2 separate regions of the Homo sapiens genome follow, and region 2 is linked to region 1. The links are contacts of gene promoters, found by promoter capture Hi-C in human tissues and cell types (Jung and others, 2019). All regions are on one chromosome and are shown on one strand. Each heading gives the region's core, a stretch centred on a gene start or on the middle of the fragment in contact. The rest is flanking DNA. Distances are from core to core; before and after follow the strand shown.

The links. Contacts are between HindIII fragments. The study calls those that stand out against the background at their distance.
Region 2: a contact is called between a fragment that was not itself captured here and the fragment with the promoter of KCNG3 in region 1, in 4 of the 25 tissues and cell types used here (H1 embryonic stem cells, lymphoblastoid cells, pancreas and 1 more).

The regions. Positions count from the first base shown.
Region 1 is chr2:42,491,528-42,498,738 of GRCh38, forward strand. It overlaps KCNG3 (potassium voltage-gated channel modifier subfamily G member 3), which reads right to left and starts at 2,455. Exons shown (of 2, transcript NM_133329.6): 1 at 1,310-2,455. The coding sequence starts at 1,974. It also overlaps a transcript of MTA3 not described here. RefSeq lists enhancers at 642-1,399, 1,400-2,157, 3,482-3,776 and silencers at 2,238-2,327, 2,508-2,557, 2,648-2,727. The HindIII fragment of the contact is 23,685 bases long and covers 1-4,686 here.
Region 2 is chr2:42,441,207-42,448,417 of GRCh38, forward strand. It overlaps KCNG3 (potassium voltage-gated channel modifier subfamily G member 3), which reads right to left. Exons shown (of 2, transcript NM_133329.6): 2 at 811-3,373. The coding sequence ends at 2,728. Among named protein-coding and RNA genes, the nearest start is that of KCNG3, 49 kb to the right of the region's middle. The HindIII fragment of the contact is 7,955 bases long and covers 1-7,211 here.

The DNA.
Region 1 (7,211 bases), core at 1,205-3,704:
GGTAAATAAATTAATTTCATTGTATTGTTGGAGAACCAAATAAGTAACTCTTATCTGTAAATTCAAAACTGTTAGAACCTAATTCACTAAACAAAATGAGTTTCCTAATGAATTTCCTTTCAAAGCATGTATCTTCGATTTCAAGCCAAGAAGAAATAATAGACTCCGTGGCACTAGACAATTTTATTTACTTCTTAGATTTATATAAAAATCCTTACTCCCTACAGGAAGAATATTATGTAGAAGTAATCCACTGCAATAGCAAGGCCGCCGTTCCGAACATGTACATGCCTATCAGTAAAACATGACAGGGCACAACCTTAAATTTAAAAAATGAATGGAAGGAGGATCTTAAGACAGTGTCAAACAGATAAACTATAATATGCAGTTTGGGTTTTGTGCCCCAAAAGGCTGTCTTCTTTGAAAGTCCATCCTTAGTCTGCTTATTCCTCCCACTGAATATGCTCACTTGTACTAAAAACAGGAAAGTGCTATCACCACTTCAAGGTAAGACAGTCTAAGAAAAGACTGCAATATTTTCCCATTCATCCTAGTAAAGTAGAAAAAAAAATTTACCCAAATACTGTTTTCTGGATTTAGGACAGTTTAGATTTTTCTTTGTTCTCAAGGTAATGGTTTTTTCCCTTCCCATATCATAGACCCTCTGAAAGTCGCAGTGTGAATCTTTGCTACCAAACGGTGGACAAGAGGTTTGCTAACTCCATACTTTGTAGGAAAAGGGGGAAGAAAAGGGCACAGACATCCATTATTTAGAGTCTATCGATAAATTAACCTGCTTTATAATATAACGATTCCATTACAGCACATAGTATGCCGGGGGCAGAGTGTATAGAATGTGTGGAGAGTGCACATTTCACCATAACAAGAATCCATCTTTCCAAACACTACCAAAAATTGGCAAATAATTCAAACTGCGCTTAGTTCAAGGCTTAATTGTTGAACCCTAACAATAAAAGTTCAGAAAAATGTAATTAGCAGGTTGCTCTCTGCGCAAAAGTAAACTACAAAGAGGGGACATTTGTCTATCTCTACACGCCCCTCCCCATGCCTGAGGATTTCGCCCTCAAGAGGTGCGTCTAGTGTAAGGGCCAGACCCCGCTGGTGCCCCGGACAACGGGGTAGGAGTGGGGACCGACCGGTCCCGTAGTTGGCCGCGCCTGGGCCTCGCTGGGCGCGCACCCCGCTGGCTCGGTCGCCCGGAGGCGGACAGGACGGAGACGGGACGTATGGACGGGACGGACAGACGCGACAGGACGGACGGGACGGGTAGAGAAGCAGTGCGTCCTACCCGGAGGGCTCCCTCCCAGGGCCGGCGGAGTACCTGCTCCGGTCATCCAGGCTGCGGTTGTCGGCGGCTGCGTTGCGCCAGTCGGGCAACGTGCTGGCGCACAGCACCACCATGGACACGATCACGAACACCACCGACACGCTAGCCAGGATCTGCGCGGCCAGCGACGACGTGGGCTCCTCGAAGGTCCGCCGCATGCGCTCCAGCCAGCGCCTGGAGGGAGCCGCCTCGGCCCCGCCGGGGCGCGCCTCGTCGCGGCCCAGCACGCCCGGCTCGTCGGCCGAGTAGAAGGTGTAGGTGTCGGACATGCGGTCGTCGAGGCGGCGCTGGCAGCAGTACTCGAGGTGCGCGCCCTCCAGGCCCCAGTAGATCATCTCGTTGTAGAAGGAGAGCTCGCACATCCGCGGCGCGAAGCGCAGCTTGCCGTGGCCGCGCACGTAGAGCAGGATGAAGCCGAAGGCCTCCGAGTGCCGGTCGAAGAAGTACTCGTTGCGCTCGCGGTCGTAGTCGTCGCACACCTCGAGCACGTCGCGCTCGGAGCGGCAGCCGTGCAGCCGGCTCACGCGGCGCAGCGGGAAGTCCTTCAGCAGCTCCCGGGACAGCGAATACCGGGCGCCGCCCACGTTCAGCACCACCGAGGCCGCCCCGCTGCGCCCGAAGGTCATGGCTGGCCGCCCGGGGGACTTTCGGCCCGAGGGCCCCGCTGCAGCCCCCCACCCCAAGCCGCCACGCGGGGCCTGCCTGCCCGTGGCTGACGGGGGAGCGCGCCGTCGGGGCCCGCGCTCCCTCGGGGCTCCGCTCCTGCCCTCCGCTGGCCCGGGGGTCCCTGGGCTCGAGTATCTCCGGCGCTGCTAGTAGCGCGCCCTCCGCCCGGCGGTACCTGCGGGTGGCCGGGGAGTCCTCGCCGGCGCCAGCGCTGAGCCCCACCGGCTGGGAACGCGGCTGTGTCCGCGCCGCCGACCCTCGCGCCCGAGGGCTGCGCACACCGAGGCCGCGGTGCCCTCTCCCAAGCCGCGGGGCCGACCCCCTGAGGGCTGCGGGCGCCGAATGGAGCCGCCGGGGCGGAATAGCTCCCCGTCTCCGGCGCTCCCTGCGGCCGCGAATCCGGCGGCCGCCCCGCCGCCGTCCAGAGGCGAGAGGCAAAGTGAGCGGGTTCGGAGGCGGCGAAGAGCCGGCTCGCGGCGGCGGGGGCGGGGCCTCTGTGCAGTCCTCCTCCTCGCCCGCCGGCTCCGCGCGCGCCGCTCACCTCCCTCCGCGCCGCCCTCCGCTTCCCGCCCGCGCCCGCACCTCCCCGGCTTGCTCGGGCTGGGATTCCCGGGCGCCCCGCCCTGGACCTCGGGCTCCCCGCCTCGTGACGCCGTCCTCCCCCTCCGCTCCGGCCCGTAGTGGCGGGGAGGGGTCCGCAGGGCGGGGGAGCGGGGAGCCCAGCGCCGGGATGCCTGCTCCCGCGTCCTGCCCTGGGCCATCGGGATGAATTGGGCAGTCCCCAGGGCCCCTTTTAACAGCCCTGGTTCAAAGCCCAGTGTGGACTCGGGTGCGGGGACAGACGGCGTTTGGAGAGCTTTTTCCAGAAACTGTCCGGAGCCCAGCTCGGGTTCTGACATCGCCCCTAAGGATTTCTCAGGGAAGGCATCCCAGCCACGGCTTTTCCTGCCGACTTTGCTCTTCCTACCGCCGCGCGGGGCGACCCACGTACCGCGTGCTCAGAGGGCGGCTACACGCCCCATCCCCCAGCCTCGGTGCCGCCTGCCAGCCCGCGGAGGGAAGCGGTCCCCGACCCGGCCCCGGCCCCCACGTTCTGGGGCGCGAGTCCTGAGAAGGCGCCTAACGTGTAGCGCGCCTGGACCCTCTCGAGATGCTGCCCTTAGAGTGGGATGAAAGTCTGGGGAGGAACGCCTTGTCACCGGCAAAAACAGCCTTTCTCTTGGTCTTCGTCTGCATCCTCCTTTTCAAAATATCTTGATTTCCCCCGCGCACCCCTGACCCGGCTGCAGCACCGGCCCTCCGAGCGGGAAGAGCCCCGTGAAGGCTCCGCAGAGCGATCTACCCCGCGCTCTTGTCCGTGCCCAGAAAGCGGGTTCCACTTGGCAGGGATTATTTTAAACTGCTACCAGCAATTCATTCACCTGACACCCGACACCGGCAGCCCAGCCCGCCGGAGGCGAGACAGGTGAGTTGTAAGGCGAACCGTGTTAGATGCAAAACAAATACTAGAAGAAAAAAATAAGGGTGGGGTAGGGTGAGATGCGGTCATCTGACCACAGGGTAACCTGGCTGGTTAAAGGGAAGAGTTTTTCATTGCCCTCTACTTTTCGTAATTTTGTAGGATTGTCCGGTGCCCGCTAGAGGTCGCCAAACGGAGTCCTTTTGCGCTGGTTCTTAAGTGGATTCCTAGTGAAAAGGCAGACAACTGAAAATGTGAGTGCTGTCTTTTAAGTAAAATCACTCTCGGTGGCTTCTTAAAGAATGAAAATCTCTGTGAGTTGTTTATCCCCAGACTTGGATAATTTATCTTAAGAGCACTAAATGTGATTAAAAGCTCAAAAACAGGAGTTATTTGCTACTTTAGTATCTACTAAATAGTTTGCTATTCAGTATCTATTTTGCTATTTAGTGTCTACTGGGTAGATACTGCTACTTTGCTGTTTAGTATCTACTAAGTAGATATTAAACAAGAAAAATATCTGTAAGAAAGTGAGTTTCAAGACAGAATTGGAGGTGCTGATGGCCATGAGTTGGCACAGAGAAAGGGCAAAACATTCCTAGTAGCAAAATCTCGAATGTGGAGGTTTAAAGTCTGTGAAGAAGTATAATGCACTTGCCCACTGAAACAATGGGGATCTCAACTGCAGCATTTAAATTGGATCCCATAAGCAATGGAATCCCTGGAGGTTTCCATAGCAGAAATGGCTTGATGAAAGCTTTATTTCAGGAAGATGCCTTTGCACTTTGGGTCATTCTAAGGAGAAGGTCATTTCGCAACCCAGGAATGGGATCCCCAACCCCGTGTCTGTGAAGATGAAGAAGGGTCTGTTCTGAGAAACGCTGAGACCAAGAACTTTGCAGGTCTTGAAGATGGATTTGTTGTAGGACGTGAGGATGGGGAAAAGTTTGCAGATGTGAGCCAGAGATGAGCCTGGCTTGATACCAAGAGCCAATTCATCAGGAAGCCGTTAAAAAATACTTTCTAGAAGCATCACAAGCAATAGAAGACAGAACTATAGTGCCGATTGTTTGCTCTAACATTATTGTAGGGTTTATTTCCTGTGTTCTCTCCGTAGAATCCTTCTACTGTCTGTTGATTGAACCAGTTGAAGAAATATCTCATTTTAAATTACATTTGAGCTTAGAAAACAAATTAATTTGATGACAATACAATGTGTGCCTCCTAGGTATATTTTCATGCGATTTCTTAGAGAGATAGGCTTAAATCATTTCATTTGTTTCAAGAGTAATATTTTTATTTGATTTTAATATCATCAACCACTGCTGCAGCAGCAATACCCAAATCGTTTTCTTAAACAAAGAAAACAGTGATGCAGAAATGATAGGCTTGTCTCAATATAATCTGGTTTAGAGAGCATTCTTAAAGCCAATTCTATTCTTTGTACTTTGAGAAGATAATGTTGAGAAGTATTACATCCAGATTCTCTCCTAGACTCGGGATGGTATTTAGGGTCTTCATATCTAAATCTTTAGAATGCATTACAATTTAAAGGTAGAATTTTAGAGTTTGAAAGAACCTAGAGGTTTTCTAGTTTCAGAACCTAGGAAAAAAAAAAAAAAAAAAAAGCAAATTACTCCCATTTTTTCCTCCCCTCCGAAGTTACAAAGCTTCAGAGATGTGGCTGTAACTAGCCCGAGCATTCCCAGCAGCAGCATCCTGGCAGAGGCTAGAATCAGGTTTTCTCATGTCAAACTCTGCTCACTCTGTTTCCAGGGCCTGGATTGCTGCCACAACCTTCTACCTCATCTCTTTGCACTCCAGTTCTTTCCTATCTCTATGAATTCTGAATAAGGCCACCACAGAGCTCTTCCTTCCATCCATTTTCATCAGGGCATTCCCAAATTCAAAAACCTGAAAGGTGGCTGGGTGTGGTGGCTCACGCCTGTAATCTCAGCACTTTGGAAGGCCGAGGCAGGCAGATCACCCAAGTTCAGGAGTTCGAGACCAGCTTGGCCAACATGGTGAAACCCGTTTCTACTAAAAATTCAAAAAATTAGCCAGGCATGGTGGTGCACACCTGTAATCCCAGCTACTGGGGAGGCTGAGGCAGGAGAATCGCTTGAACCTGGGAGGCAGAGGTTGCAGTGAGCTGAGATTGTGCCATTGGACTCCAGCCTGGGCTACAAGAGCAAAACTCCTCTTGAAACTAGAGGTTTTCAAAAAAAAACAAAACAAACAAAACCTAAAAGGAGTATATAAAAGTAGATAATTAGAAATTGTCCATACAATAAAGTCCAAATTGGCCAGGCGCGGTGGCTCATGCCTGTAATCCCAGCACTTTGGGAGGCCGAGGCAGGTGGATCATGAGGTCAGGAGTTCGAGAGCAGCCTGGCCAAGATGGTGAAACCCCGTCCCTACTAAAAATACAAAAATTAGCTGGGCGTGGTGGTGCGCCCCTGTAATCCCAGCTACTCAGGAAGCTGAGGCACGAGAATCGCTTGAACCCGGGAGGCAGAAGTTGCAGTGAGCCGAGATCGCTCCACTGCCCTTGAGCCTGGGTGATGGAGCGAGACTCCATCTCAAAAAAAAAAAAAAAGTCCAGATTGTCTATAGGGCTCTCTCTAGGCTCAAACCCTGGCTGTATAACTCATTTGCTAAGCCACCTGGAGCCAGTTCCTTAAACCTCATTGATCTTCAGTTTTTCTCCTCCGTAGAATGAAGATAATAATACCTACATCCAAAGGGGTAATGAAAAGATCACAAGCTGATGTGAAGGTGGTATATAGCTCAGTGCATGACACTAGAAACATCTCACTTCATGTATGCTTCCTTTAGCCCAAATCAGCCATGCTCATTTCTCATTCCTGGGTTCTAAATAAACACAGATTGGATAAGTGAATTGATTTGTCTAAACATGTGACCAACAACAGAGTAACCTGAAACAAAAAATTCAGTAAAAAGTTGTGACCCTTTTACTGCTGACTCTGGCTTGAACACAGATTCCTCCATCACTTTGCATTGCATAACTGGATGTGTTCGAGGACTCCAAACACCGTTTCCCCCAAAGCTTTAGAAATTGAAATACCCTGTGGGCACTACTGTTCCATGCAGCTTACTTATCAACTCTGTCTGCTTTAAAAAGCCCTTGCCCTGCTGTTAATTCATATTTTTCAATGTTTGCATTTACATCAGTTTATTTCTCAGCCTCTGCCGAATCAGTTGGTACTTTTAAAGACAGCTTTTCGAATGGAAATTCAAATGGAAACTTCTCTCATTTTAAAATATAAAAGGCTAATGACTTAGCCCAGTGTGCAGAATGACCCCTGTAGAAGGTGTTCAGAAGACCACCAGGATGGCTGAATGGTAGAAAGGAGAGCTTTATTGTTGTTATCAGTTTGCAAGCCAGGAAGAGAAAGTCTCCGGTGTGGACTGAAGGTGCTCTCTCTTCAAAGAGGGAAATAACAGGTTGGGTTTTAGGCCTCACAGGGCCTGTATCATACATAGTCAGCAGGCTTGGGGGAAAAGCTATACATACTTACGGGGGAGGCGCACACATGCATAATTGGTACACATATATGTAACATACATCGTGTTCACTTTGTGATGGGGCTTTAGCATTAAAATGAGGTGGAATTTGGCTCTTTATGTCAACAGGTGAACTACAGGCCACAAAGACAGCTTGTGTGCTGCCTCTGTAAGCTGGCTGAAACTGACCTGGGGTCTGCAGCAGCTCAT
Region 2 (7,211 bases), core at 2,587-5,086, 49 kb before region 1:
CCCTATCTCTACAAAAAAATAAAAATTAAAAAATTAACCAGCATGGTGATGCACACCTATAGTCCTAGCAACTTGGGAGGCTGGGGTGGGAGGACTGCTTGAGCCCAGGAGTTCAAAACTGCAGTGAGCTATGATCACACCACTGCACTCCAGCCTAGGCAACCAAGCAAAACTCTATCTCTAGAAAAAAATAAATAGATAAATAATGATAAAAGTAGCAACGCTCAGGGAACGTTACAATAAAATGCTGTTCCTAAAAAAACACAACATCCATGAAGACAAAACCCTAATACATATTTTTTCATTTATGAATGAACTACTCTATCACGTCTCATCGTCTCCTTATAAATGGGTAGCTTAACTGCCACTAGTATTTACCCAACATGCTTCTTTATGAAAATCGGTCCTATGGAAAGTCTGGAATCACCAACAAGAGATTTCACACTTGTTACCTAAGGGTAGCATGAAGTCTGTGTGTATATTTGCACATGTACATTATATATATATATACACACACACATATCCCTATATATAAAATATATACACATATATATACCTATATGTATGTATAAAATATATATATATAGGTGTGTGTGTATATATATACCTATAGGTATATGCTTCTCCTCGTCTCTTCACACAGAAGTTTCTCCCCTCAAATCAGTCAACTGTTTGTGCCCAAGTCTGTAACAGACACTGTCGGGGATACAAAGGTGTATGCATGAGAGAGGATCCCAGCTCTCAAGACAGTTATAATTTACTTGGGAAGATAGGACATATTCACATAAAGCGGTCCCAGTACCAGTAAAATTGATGGTTATCATATTTTTATTAGTAATATGGAGGTGCTATCATCTGCACATTGTTTGCATGAACCACAAAGCTTTAATCCAAATAGTTAAGAAAAAATAAATCCATGCCATTTATTTCAATTATATTAGAATACAATAAATATACAATAAATAACTGAATTTCTTTTGGGTATGTAAGAAGTAGCATACTAGCAGTAATAGGGAAAATAGGGCAAGATATTTAATGGCCAAACTATTACATAAGCTTAGGAAAGGAAATTAAGGGAAAGAAAACAGTTTTGCTATTATTACCTCAGCATGACAATGACAAAGAAGTGTGATTTTTCCAGGCTTTTCTCAGAACCCAGAGATGTGTGAAGATTAACCTGCTGGGCTAGGTTTCTGGAGATCCAGGTGTTAGCCCTGACTCCTTCACAATTATATTCTCTCCTGCCCTGATTTTCTACCTGTAATAGTTGAGGTTTGAACTAGATGATGGCTAAAATTCCTTTAATGAACACTTCTGGTAACCCTTTATTTGATAAATATATCCAGGTCCTCCATCACCCACCACTTCCCAATCCCTGTCTTCTCTACCTCTGACAAAATTACTGTGTACAACATTCAATTTTTTATGAATCTGTCACTAATTATTTGTGTTTATATATACACTAACTTCTTTATGGTAACTGGTTGAAAAAGCAAAATTCTAATTTCTGTTGCTAAAATTTAGTTACTAAACAATCATCACTTTTACATTATCTAGTCCTAATAATCTAGCCAGATTAACATGGCATATTAGTCAGTATTCTTACAAGAAGAGTTTTGGTGTAGCTGTGATTCACAATAGTTAAAGATCAGATCAAATCATTATGTATCCATCGCTTTTACTGGCTTAAAATTGACTTAGCTACACAGCAACTAAGAGTACAGTAATATTTAATTTCTCCCTTTTATGATAATCCAGTGACAACACGTAAGTATGACTTTGCTACTAAAAGGCTATATAAATATCCTTTCATCTGATAAGTCTTATTAAACCTCTAGTGTTTGGGGGAGGAGGTTAAGAGAAGAAGAGGTTGTAATATTGAGTCATCTCAAATTATTCCTATTATAATTTTTATGTTGGAAGTATTCTTGTTTGGACATCTAAATATTAGGACAGTTATCACCTAGGAACAGCAATGAATTCAAATATTATCCAGTAAGATGCTAAACAACACAAGCTCTCGTCAATTCTTAAATACCTTTTGAGTCATTACAGTAAAGAGATAAATCCAAAATGGAAAAGGGAGAACATACTCAAGCTTCCATGAAGCGGCACGATAAGGTGAATAATTGGCACAAAAATAAAGCAAAGAATTGAGAAGTATGCTGGAAAAGTCTTTCAAATACTATTCTTGCTTGTATCTAGCTCCATTATACAGTTTAAATTTTGGCCAAATTTTTAAAGTATTTGTTAAACAGTTCCCGCATGTGACATATGTTTCCAGGATACTTCTGACATTGATATGAGAAATTATAAAACATTTAGAAATGAAAATGTTACTCTCAAACAAAAAACACTATAAGTTCCAAGCTTCTTCTGAATTCATAAGATGGAAAAACATTTGGAAAATAGTACCTTTCTGTTTTAAAATGTTCAAATAATGTATTTTTTAAAAATGTGTAATCATTCAAGGAAACGGGAAAACAAGTCTAAATAAAACCGGGTCCTAAAGTTTACTCTAGGAGTCATTATTCTTCCTTTGCAGTCTCAATTCTATTTACTCCATAACAAGTAAACTGTTTTATCCCTTCGGCTGGGAAGGATAATTTTTACCCTACCAAGATGATGACAATGCCACTGCAGTGCTCACCCAGCAAGAAACACATAAATATGAAGCAGCATCAAAGTCTTTCTATGAAGTGTATGCAAGAATTGATTTGCAATGCATTAATTCAGGAATTCAGTGGAGAGGCTCCTACTATACCTAGCAGATCTAAACTTGAGCTCATGATAACACTGCACAAAGCTATGGTAGATAAAAGTGATAGGTAATGCCAATAGAACAATTCCACTGACAACACAAACTCCTCCAAGAATTCTTCCAGGCACTGTGATAGGATACATATCTCCATAGCCAACTGTAGTCATAGAGATAATCACCCACCAGCAGGCAGCAGGAATGCTGGTAAAGTCCTTGTTGGATGTTTCCAGGTCCAGCCCATGTTCAAGAAGCTGAGAAAGTGCACTAAAGATTGCCATGGCAACACAAATGAAGACAAGTAACATAACCATCTCTCGGTAGCAACGTTTGAGAGTCAAACCGAGTGTCTGAAGACCAATGAAGTGACGGGCAAGCTTAATCACCCAAAAAATCCTCATCATTCTAAGTACCCTCAAGGTGACTCCAGCCCTCTGGAGTTGAGAGTTCTCGCCTGTAAACACTGTCATCAACACAGAGATGTAATACGGCGTGATTGCCAGTAAATCAATGATGTTCAGGGGTCTCTTGACAAACTCACACTTGTTTTTGGAGACAATGAACCTCACGATGCACTCGGCAGTGAACCAACCTATGCAGATAGCTTCAATTATCCTGTCAAGAGAACAAAAGAAGAATTGATCATTTTATTTTTAAGCATTTTAATAGCTCTTAGATTTCTTCAGATAGTACTACACTGACATACTAATTCAGTTACTTTTCCAGAAAACATAAAGAACAGACAACATTAGCAACATCATCAGACCACCAGGATGCACGCAACAGAACAACAAATCAATTCAGATGAAAATTGAGACCAGGTGCAGTGGCTCATGCATGTAATCCCAGGTCTTTGGAAGGCTGAGGTGGGTGAATCGCTTGAGCCCAGGAGTTCGAGACCAACCTGGGCACCACAGCAAAACCCCGTCTCCACAAAAAAAAAATACAAAAATCAGCTGGGCTTGGTGACACACACCTGTAGTACCACCTACCTGGGAGGCTAAGGTGGGAGGATCACCTGAGCCTGGGAAGGTCAAGGCCAGAGTGAGCCATGACTGTGCCACTGCACTCCAGCCAGGATGACAGAAAGAGACCCTGTCTCAAAAATTAAAAAAAAAAAAAAAAAAAATTGAACTTGATAAAGTTCTTACTTCTATGCTACAATACTATTAAATTTTGTTTTTTACTTGTCACTAATACTTTTAAAAAATATCTCTCTTATTTGGTAGTTTGAAATTAACTTATCTTCAGTTGGCCACAACATGAAATTTAACTTACTCTTGCAGGACAGTGGTTCTCAGCTGTGATACGAGTTCTGAGGTGGATTGGAAGGGCATTATTCCTATAGAATGTGGACCTATCTAAGTTTTTTGATGGGCTATTTCTTGGTAACTTACAGTCAATGCAAGATCATTTCCTAAAACGTGAATCGTCCTTCCTTCCCAATAGGCTTGTATGGGAGATACTGGCACCGAGCAAGTTTATGGGGAACTGGGTGAGTGCCCTCACCAGAAACTCACCAGGTCACAACTATCCTAAAAAGGTCCCAGCAGAAACGAGGCCGAGGACTCCCACATTGGAGCAAAATGGCCGCTAGGATTTTCCCAAAGACCACAAATACTTTGTATTCCATCATCATTTTTACACAGCACATATTTTTAAAAGACCACATTTTACCTAGAGCAATATTTACCACCCTTTCTGCATTACTGCATGCACTGAAAATAATCGCATTTATACAGCACACTGCAGTCAAGGGATAGGATTCCTTTTTTTTTTTGAGATGAAGTTTCACGCTATCGCCCAGGCTGGAGTGCAGTGGCACGATCTCAGCTCACTGCAACCTCTGCCTCCCGGGTTTAAGCAATTCTCCTGCCTCAGCCTCTCCAGTAGCTGGGACTACAGGCGTCTGCCACCATGCGTGACTAATTTTTGTATTTTTAGTAGAGATGGAGTTTCACCATTTTGGCCAGGCTGGTCTCGAACTCCTTACGTCAGTTGTTCTGCCCACCTCAGCCTCCCGAAGTGTCGGGATTACAGCCATGAGCCACCACACCCAGCCAACGGGTAGGATTCTTGAAGAAGCCTGCATCCTGGGAGCTCTAGGCCCCCAGCCCTCAGCCCATAAACCCCAAAGCTGAGAAAATCAAATTTCAACACCTCTGGCCCTGTGAGCTGTAATTTGAAGGTAATTTTAAATTTAATTAACATTTTTTATTTTTTTTTAATTGAGATGGAGTGTCGTTCTGTCACCCAGGCTGGAGTGCAGTGGCACAATCTCGGCTCACTGCAACCTCTGCCGCCTGGGTTCAAGCAATTCTCGTGCCTCACCCTCCCAAGTAGCTGGGACTACAGGCGCGCGCGATCACGCCTGGCTAATTTTTTTATATTTTGAGTAGAGACGGGGTTTCACCATGTTGGCCAGGCTGGTCTCAGACTTCTGACCTCAAGTGATCCGCCCACCTCGACCTCCCAAAGTGCTGGGATTACAGGCATGAGCCACCATGCCCAGCCCAAAATTTTTAACATTCGAAATTAAAATTTATAATTATTATACCATCACTTGTTTTTCTCCACATAATTCTTTCTCACCACTAACTTAAACCCAAACATCAGAAGTACAATGGAGAGAGAAGAAACTGGAGTAAGTGGGAGGAGAGTAGGTGGGGCAACATTTTGAAAAGAATTACTCAAAGTGCATTCCACAGAACACAAGTGGTACTTGATGTTACTCATAAAAATGAATAAATACAATTAACCATGTTTCCCTATTGTAGGGCTTTACAGGGCTGTAAAGATTAACTTTATTAACTTTTATTTTCTGAATAGGTATTCACATTCACATGGCTTAAATCACATGATTTTAAAAAAAGAATATAGAAAGAAAGGTCTCAGGCCAGGCATGGTGGCTTATACTTGTAATCCCAGCACTTTGGGAGGCCAAGGTGGGAGTATAGCTTGAGCCCAGGAATTCAAGACCAGCCTGGGAAACATAGTGAGGCCTCCTCTCTACAAAAAATGAGGCAGGAGGATTGCTTGAGCCCAGGAGATTGAGGCTGCAGTGAGCCATGATCACACCACTGCACTCTCACCTGTGTGACAGACAGCAAACCTGCCTCAAAAAAAAAAAGGGATGAGGAAGGGGAAGGGAAAAGTCTCACCTCTCACACTATTCCAGCCACCCAATTCCCCTCCCTGGAGTCAACAAATATAATCACTTTCTTATGCATCCTTCCAGAGCTATTTGATGTATGTACAAACAAACAAAAATTTTTACTTACATGTGTATATATATGTACATACATGTATATATATATACATACAGATACATACATACACACATATATATGTATGTATCTCCTTTTACACAAATAGTAGCATGTTACACTAATTGCCCTGCCTCATTTGGTTAATATATCTTGGAGGTCATTCCAAATCAGTAAATAGAGAGCTCCCTCATTTCTTAAACATGGTGACACAGTGTTCCACTGAATGTACTGTGATTTATTTAACCAGTCCACCAGATGAACATTAACACTGATGCAATGAATATTCTTTTTTTTTTTTTGAAACAGGGTCTTACTCCCGTCAACCATGCTGGAGTGCAGTGGCACCATCACAGCTCACTGCAGCCTCAAATGCCCAGGCTCAAGCGATCCTCCCACCTCAGGCTCCCAAGTAGCTGGGACTAAGGCACGTACCACCACACTTGGTTAATTTTTTTTCTTTTTTTTTCTTTTTTTTATACTTTTTATAAAGATGGGGTCTTGCTATGTTGCCTGGAATGGCCTCGAACTCCTGGGCTCAAGCAATCTGCCCACCTTGGCCTTCCAAAGCACTGGAATTACAGGCATGAGCCCAGCCAATGCAATGAATACGTTTGTATATCATTTCCCACATGAGCAGATATATCTGTAGAATAAATCTGAGACTTGGAATTACTGGATCAGAGAAGATACATATGTATTTGTAATTTTGATAGATCTTGCCAAGCTACCCCTACAGAGGTTGTACCAAATTACCCACCCACAGGCAATGCATAGGAGTGTCTATTCCCCACGGCCTCACTAATGTAAAGTATTGTTGAACTTGGAGGTCTCTGCCACTCTGAGAGATGAAAAGTGCTAGCTTATTTTGAGCAATGTTGAGCATCTTTGCACATGTTTAACGGCCTGCTCTGTGACCTGTCTGTATCACTTGCTCACAAAGGCTTTAATCTGCTCAGAAACAGTAGGAATATCCTTCAGAGTATCAGGCCAGGACTACTGTTCCTTGAAATACCAGTTTTGCAAAATGATTCCAGAGCCTTTGCCTGTAAATTTCTTAGTAACAGAGTTTGACAAACTATAGCCCGGGGTCTAAATCCTGCCCACTTCCCACTTATTTATTTATTTATTTATTTATTTATTTATTTATTTATTTTTTGTATGGCATGCAACCTAAGAATGGTTCC